2 separate regions of the Homo sapiens genome follow, and region 2 is linked to region 1. Evidence: promoter capture Hi-C in 16 types of primary human blood cells and fetal thymus (Javierre and others, 2016). All regions are on one chromosome and are shown on one strand. The core of a region is centred on a gene start or on the middle of the fragment in contact, and the rest is flanking DNA. Distances in the headings are between cores, read along the strand shown.

Region 1 (4,046 bases), core at 841-3,340:
ATGCCTAGGGCATAATCTGAATTCTTTAGGTTGGCATTCAAGGACATTTTCATCTTATAGAATAGGTTAGGTGAATACAACACAACTCCTTCCTCTTGTATGGTAAGCTGGTTTAACTAAAACCTTGAGTTATCTTTTATAATTTTGAAGTCTAGAAATGCCCTTTCTTTTGTAGTTGCCCTATAAACTCAATGAAGATATTAAAACCTTGCTAATCTTTCAGAAACAATTTGAACCTTAGCTTGTATCATAAGCTCTCTTTGATTTCTTCAACCAGCTTGGTAAGAAACATGAGCGCCTATTTTACATGACACTTAATATAACTATTTTATTTAGACCTCATAATATCCTACAAAGCAATTATTTTAAATCTTACTCTTAAAAGTGGAGACTAAAACTGCAATTATGACATCTGTACAAAATTCTACAACTAGACCTGGTTGGATCAGTATTAGAATACTGGTAGGTTCAATTGACACCAAAACCCATGTTATTTCTATCTCTCAATGTGGCCTAAAGTATATACTACCATGAGTGGGAGAATAAAGAAAATGTGACTTTCTAAGTCACCTTGGACAATCACTTTTCTCCTTGTATTTTATCATTTTAAAAAATGTGGTTTCTAAGCTGGGAAATATGTATACAAAGGTTTTTTCATTGCCTTTTATATTTTTGTTTACAGTATTCTGTATGTATTTAATAAAGTTATTTCATAAAAAGTAAAACAATCATTTACTAATACAAATGAGGATACGAATAGCATTTCACATACCTCTGAACCATAGAACATAGATTTTGGAGAGACTCTAGACATCATCTAATCCAGCCTCCTCATTTTCTAGATGAAGTGTTTGCAAGGGAGAGAGTGAGGTAGACCATTTGGCCAAAGCTGGGGGAAAGTGTGTGACTGAGTTGCAACTCAGTTATTCTGATTTCCACCTGAATGATTTGAGATGTGAATAGTTGCTTTCCTGGCAGGCAAATTGTGAGTTTTGATAGCACAGACTATGGGGGTGGGCTGCCTGCTGTAGACTCTCGGAAGCTGCTGCACAAAAGCCTTTGCAGAGCATGCTTCACCTCCTTGTTCCGCAAAGTGTAAATGAATGGGTTGAGCATTGGAGTTACGATTGTGTAGAAGACAGCAGGGGCCCCAGCTCCTGCCTCACTGGAGCGAGGCTGCAGGTAGATACAGACAGGTGGCACGTAGTACAGGAGCACCCCAGTGAGCTGGGCAGTGCAGGGGGAGAAGGCCCGCTGCCGGCCCTGGGCTGTGCGGATGCGCAACACAGCTGCCACGATGAAGATGTAGGAAATAACGATGAGGATGAGGCAGCCTGCAGCCACGATGCCAATGCTGGCAAGCATGACTAGCTCATTAATGGTGGTGTCTGTACAGGCGAGCTTTAGGACAGGGGGTATGTCGCAGAAGAAGTAGGCAATGTGGCAAGGCCCACAGTAGAGCAGGCGGAAGGTGAGGGAGGTGTGGATTGCAGCGTGCGTGGCACCTATGGCCCAGGTGATTCCAGCCATTTCTGCACACATCCTTCTGTTCATGGCCACTGGGTAGTGCAGGGGTTGACAGATAGCCAGATAGCGGTCATAGGCCATGACTGTGTACAGGAAGCACTCAGTGCTGGCCAGAAAGTGGAAGCAATAAAGCTGTACGGCACAGCCCTCAAAGGAGATCACCTTCCCATCCAGAGTCAGCAGGCCTGCCATGACCTTGGGCACTGTCACTGTAGACAAACAGGCATCCAGGAAGGAGAGGTGCCCCAGGAAGTGGTACATGGGTAAGCTGAGGTGAGAGTCAGAGCCCACAGTTAGGAGGATGAGGAGATTCCCAGCCACAGTGATGCTGTAGATGAGGAGGAAGAGGAGGAAGAAGAGGCTAGAATGTTTAGCGGTGTACCTCAAACCCTCCAGGAAGAAGTGGCTCACCACAGTCTGGTTGGGGTTCTCCGTTGTCATGGTCATCTTCTCACACACAGAGCGGCTAGTCATCCCCTTTGCAACAAAACTGACATTAATGGAATAAATAGCTGTATCCCTTTCCTGAGATGTCATTATCCATCAAGCCACACCACCTTGGTCTTACCCAGTAAGCAAGAGAAAGATGTACAAGTTCATCTTACAGTTTTGTTCTGCTCTAGTCTAGTGCTTCCTTGCTGTTTATTTCTTCATAATGAATCTTTCAATACAAAATCTGCAGTTTTGGTGAGGTATATAAAGGACTGTAAGAATTATTTGCAGAAATGCACTCCCTAAATAATGACAATAAAAATATGGATTATAAATCCTACTCTCAATGAGTATTTTTTGCAAATATTCCAGAATTGTGATGCCTCTGCCCTCCTACTCTATGTACCCTGCCATGCTGTAGATGTAGAAAGGCAGGTTCTTATTGCTGTGTCATCAGGGAGATGCATCCTATTTTCAGGTGAGACTTGCCTGGAGTTTTGGTGCTATTACATCAGCCAGAAACACAGCAGCCCCACCCATTACTCAACCAGAGGAGTTCTTTGGAATTTCAGTTACCCACAATCCTCAAGTGTGTAACAATTGAGGCTTGGAGAATAGACTGAATAATTATCAGGACAATTTTTTCTATACACTTTGTGTTCTTCCTGTAAAGCTCTGTTTCAAAATTTGGGGAATTGTTTGCCTTTTCCTTTCTTGTTGAGCCTTTCCACTGGACTGTAATTGAGATTTAAAGAGTTCTCTTTGATTCTTCCATCTTTCACCTCGTTAGCCTAACAGATGTTGCATTAGGTGAAAAATTTCCTTAAACTGCTTTTTTTCCGTGTTGTCTCTTCAATTCCTGTGGATTTTACCTAAACCCACCTCTTCATATTTTACACCTAGATTTTCACAATGGTATTTTATGTCCCATCTCTTCCTTACTCCCTGATATACCAAATGATTCAGTATTCAACTTTTTTGTGCCAGTTTTCTTAAAAAAATTCGAATATATCTTTTCTTACTGTTCCTTAGTGCCTGAGATATAAAGTGTATCTCTGTCCTACATTCAGAATTATCTGTAAACTATTTCCATTATCATGAAAAAAATCTTTATCTTCTGCAATCCCCTAAGAAACTCCTGTTATCCAGGGATGCTATTTGCCTCATCTCCTCAATTTGCCATAATCTCTCTCTGATCTTGTCACAGGATCCTTAGGATGTCACTTTTCCAGACAGAAACCTCTGTGGCTGGTGGTTCCTCTGCTTGAGTTTGCTCATGGCTGCTGGGTTCTTTTCACCCACTTGGCCTGGCAGGCTGCACTTGGCTCGTGCTACCAGCCTGGATTCCATGCTTGCCAAGGGTGGGAGAGGCGAGAGGTGTGTGAGTGAGCAAGCACAGGGGTCTGGCCACTGCACACAGCCAGGCACACTTGCTGCTGTGGTGGGATGGGCAGCTCCAGGTGCCAGCAGAGGCACCAGCTTCATGTGAGGCTATAGCTGGACCAGGCATACTGCAAGTGGTTTCCATTATGGGCACCAGCATCTGGACGAGGGGAATATGGGGGCACCCAAAAGCTCAGAGATGCCAGGAACTGCAGAGCCCAAAGAGGGTATTACAGCCTGTCACAGCCCTGGCTCAGGGAGTCCTGAGGTCTGGGCTCCAAGAAGCTCTTCTTTCCTTCTCGTCACCCACAATGCAGCCAATGAGGGGGTGAGTTTGGGGGTTTGTGTTTCAGTCTGTTTGTGTTACAGCCCTTTCAGTCCCACCACCCCACTCTGACCTGCAGCTCCTGGGCTGGCCTGGCCCACCTCTGCTTCCTGTCCCATTGGGTGGCCACCCAGCACTGGCAGAGGGTGGGAGGGCTATAGTGTTACAGCAGCTCTGGCTTGGGGAGTCCCGAGGTCTGGGCCACCAGGAGGGTCACCACTTTTTACTCCCATAGTCCGGGAGCATGTCACCACCCACAGCTTGGCAAATGAGCCAGGAACATGTTACAGCACCTTTAGCTCCCCCTGTTCGGTGGGTCCCAAGTTCTCATCCTGCGTCCAGGAAGAATGAGGATACTAGAGGACAACTAGAGGGTGAG
Region 2 (4,046 bases), core at 517-3,016, 76 kb before region 1:
AAGACTAACATATAATCTGAACATTTCTCTTTGCCTTTGGATTATATTTCTTCATTTGCTTTTTTTTTGTTTTTTTGCAATCAGATATGCTCCATATTATATTTGTGTAGCAAATCACTAATATTTTTTAGTTTCAAAATAAACTATTTGCATAGTGAGGCAGCAATACATACACACACACACTCTCGCTTACACACATGATCATAACAGGGATTTACTTCACTAAACATTATTCATAATATGTATAATTCACAGGCTGGTAATGGGTATCTAGACTATAGCTGAAGTTTTGTGTTTTAAGCATTTGACTCCAGTAGGCCTCTATGCAATAAGCTTGCTTGGACAAGTATAAGTAGGATTGATGGTTATTTATAATATTTGATTTTAAGAATAAGCAAGAATATTGTGTGTTACATATCTGCTCTTCTAATACCATAAGCTTCCTCATTCATGACTGATTTCCCCTGGTTAAGAATTGATCTCATTTTGTTATTTATCTAGTAAGTGAAAATCCTCTCCTGTAAGTTGGCCTATTTTAATCAGCATTTCAGATCACGATCTTCTAGACAGGAGAGAACAAAGTGTTCTGATTGAACTAGATGCTGGGTAGGAATGAGGATGATGCTGAAAAAAGTAAATTCTACTCTAAGCCGGTCATTGCGATAGGCCCTAATGAATGAGAAATTGTCCCTTGTCTCAACGGCGGGGGGGCAATTCCCAAAGAGCAGGGAAGACAGGCACAAATACATGTATGGGGGGACAATGTTAAAGCAGAGGTCAGTACACTGGGAGAATAGTTAAGGGAATAGGAATGGTACCAAAGCACTTTTCCCAAGGAAATAAATTGACATTAAAACATGTTTTAATAACCATCCAATATGAATGGGGGAAGGACCATGCTTTATTTATCCTGGCTCCATCTCCAGAAATTTAGTGTCTTTGACATGGTAGACACTATTGATTATGAGATAATCTGAAGTGGTGTCACAGTTTTCCCCAAAGGCAGATCTGAATATAGCTGTTTGCCCCTGAAAATGTGGAGGCTTTAAGTGCATGTGTTATTTTAACAGAGCCACAAAAGGCTCACCCAAGGATCACCAGGCACATTCTTCCAGATGTCCTGGAAAGCCATTAGAACAGACTGGAGGGCTGGACTCAGACTCATTCCTCTGACTCTTCTTCCATCATTAGCAGACACTAGAAACACTGAATCTACTGCTTTCATCCAAGAAACACTTCAGCTATTCCCAGTGTTCTTCACATATTCCTTAGGTTTTCTACTTCTCAGTTCCTTTGCTTATGCCTTTATCTACGTCTTGAATATTCTTTCATATCCTCTCAGCTTAAATGGATCCTCCCCACCTTTGAAGGCATATTTTACAATCTACCTTTCCATGAAGATCGTCCTTATCGCTCTAGACAGTAATGACCTGTTCCATCTCTGACCTCAAAGTCTACCTACTGCTTATTATACCAAGCACTGTCTATGATGCCTCATTTGTTCAACATTTTAAAATGCAAGCCATGTGTTAGACCATGTATCTTCCCCGACTGAATGGCAAGGGGCATTAGTGTGACTAATCCATGTTAGATTCCCAAAATGATAGGCCAGTTCATGGATAGTTCTTACAAATACATAGGCTGCTGTACCTCAGGAGACAAGAAACCCTTGGGACTACTGGTCTTTATATTTCTTGACACAAAATACCTGAACTGAGAATAAAAGTCATAGCTTCTTGTTAGCTGTTGTCACTCAGACACTTAAAGAAGAAGGTAAAATCAATCCATCTCTACTCCTGAAGTGATGAGGTTAGGAGAAAGAAGAGATACTCACCTACAGTCTTCAGGAGGAAAAAGGTGAGCTTCAGAATTATGATGTTCATATTATAAGTATATTAAAATGTGTTCTGAAATCAATTCCCGATTGTCCCCATGGGTTCTCGAGCTGCATGTTTGAGGCCACTGAGTCACAGAAGTTTAGGGAAGAGGCCATAGGCATCCATCTCAGACTCATTTATGCATTGTCCAGTCACCTTACCTAAGTATCTTGTGTCTAATATATGAATTAATCTGTGAAATCACCTGCTTTAAAAATATATTTACAAATATATTTATGTGAACCTTATAATATGTAAAATACATTCACAGTTATTGTCTCATTTGATTTGCATAACAATCTTTTGAAGTATTTATTATTTTTTACAGATTAAAATATGAAGTTCAGAGAGACTTTATGAGTCAAAGGTTGCACTGTAAATCTTAGAAATGAAAATGATACTGCATCTTATAACTCAGGGTTCATGGTCTTTCTGTTACCTCTGTACTAATGGTTTCTTTCTTTAAAAGGGGACAATTCAGATTTGAAAGATTTAGGGAAAAAGATCACATTCTAGACTTCTGTTGTCCAGTAATATAGCCACTAGCCATAGGTGGCTACTGAGCATTTGAAATCTGGCCGGGTATAAAATACACTATGGATTTCAAAGATTTGTATAATAAAATAATGTAAAATATCTCATTATTTTTAAAATATGAATTATATGTTGAAATGATGTACATGTACATCATTTTGCATGTACAGTTGGCCTGTGTGTCTGTGGGTTCCACATCTGTGGATTCAACCAATGGCAGATGGAAGATTTTTTTTTAATGGGTGGTTATATCTGTACTGAATATGTACAGACATTTTTCTTGTTATTCCCTGAACAATATACTAAAAGAAATATTTACTTAGCATTTACATTATATTAGGTATTATAAGTAATCTAGAGATGATTTAAAGTATACAAAAGGATGTGCTTAGTTAGGTTACATAAAAATACGACACCATTTTAAATCAGGGACTTGAGCATTCAGGGATTTTGGTATCTGAAGGGGTCCAGGAACCAGTCTCCTATGGATATCAAGGACTGAACTGAGTTAAACAAAACATACTAGTAAAATGTATTTTATCTTTTTATTCTGACTTTTTACAAAATGAACTTCTAGGATGTTTTAAATTGCCCGTGTGTCTGCATTATATGTCTATTGGGCAATGCTGATCTAGCATTTACCTTTGCAAAATACTTTCAATAGTCATAGTTTTAATAATACTGTGAGATGCATTGAAATGTTTAAAAACACTTTTCTTATGATTTTAAATTGCTAAAAACCACCTGAGTCCTGAATGAGGTCTGAATCAATGTAGTAGATTATTTTGGTCAGAAATACAACCTCATAAATTTGTATCCCTAGGCTAGTCAAGTTTACTGTTTATCGGTTGGTTAAATAAAGTAGATGCTGGTTATCATTGCTTACTTTTGTGTGGACTAAGATGGAATGTGTATAATTTTTCTTCCTACAAATGCAAAAACAGAATACAATTTGTTGCAATAATCTATTTGACATGCACATTACACTGCCATGGAATCTGTGAGTTTTCAAATAGGTGGCAAAATACTGAAATGTAAAATTGTACACTTTCTATTCTTCATCTGAGAAGGCTTTCCTTGAGAAGATGTCTTCAAAGATGGGCTTTACATAATCAGGTAATGCTTTCTGGCACAAAATGAATCAGAAAAGTTTAGAGAAGGAAACAAGAAAGAAGATCGATGACTTCAGCTCTAGGAGAAAATAACTGAAAATAGCGCCTCTCAAATGTTAATGCACTCACAAATCATGTGAGAATCCCACTAAAATGTAGATCCTCACTCAGCAGGTGTGAGGTAGGGCCTGAGACTGTGCATTGCTAAAAAAATCTCTGAGTGATACTGCTACTACTGGTTCATAGACCACACTGTGTAGTACAAACCTAAACCACAGAAATGTTTTAGAAAGTGAGAACACAGGAAAAAGAAACCTCACAGGCTTGAGAAGAGGGAAGAACAGTGCAGGACACTAGAATAAAACAAGGAACATGAGCAGAATAAGACATTTTACTTGGAGAGGGAGCCCAGTAGGAATTAGGGGGCATGCAGGAGAATTAAATATAAGAGTGGTCAGTGTGTTTGTAACACTCAGGACAGATTTTAAAACATGCTTTAAAAAACCCATGATATTAAAGACAA

The links. The method cuts DNA at HindIII sites, captures the fragments that hold promoters and counts their contacts. A CHiCAGO score of 5 or more calls a contact.
Region 2: the fragment with the promoter of OR8D4 here is called in contact with the fragment with the promoter of OR10S1 in region 1 in 1 of 17 cell types (neutrophils); the score reaches 5.8 in neutrophils.

The regions. Positions count from the first base shown.
Region 1 is chr11:123,975,691-123,979,736 of GRCh38, forward strand. OR10S1 (olfactory receptor family 10 subfamily S member 1) reads right to left here and starts at 2,091. Exons shown (of 1, transcript NM_001004474.2): 1 at 971-2,091. The coding sequence starts at 1,974. The coding sequence ends at 1,006. The HindIII fragment of the contact is 7,911 bases long and covers 1-4,046 here.
Region 2 is chr11:123,900,401-123,904,446 of GRCh38, forward strand. It overlaps OR8D4 (olfactory receptor family 8 subfamily D member 4), which reads left to right and starts at 1,767. Exons shown (of 2, transcript NM_001005197.2): 1 at 1,767-1,857. The HindIII fragment of the contact is 7,569 bases long and covers 438-4,046 here.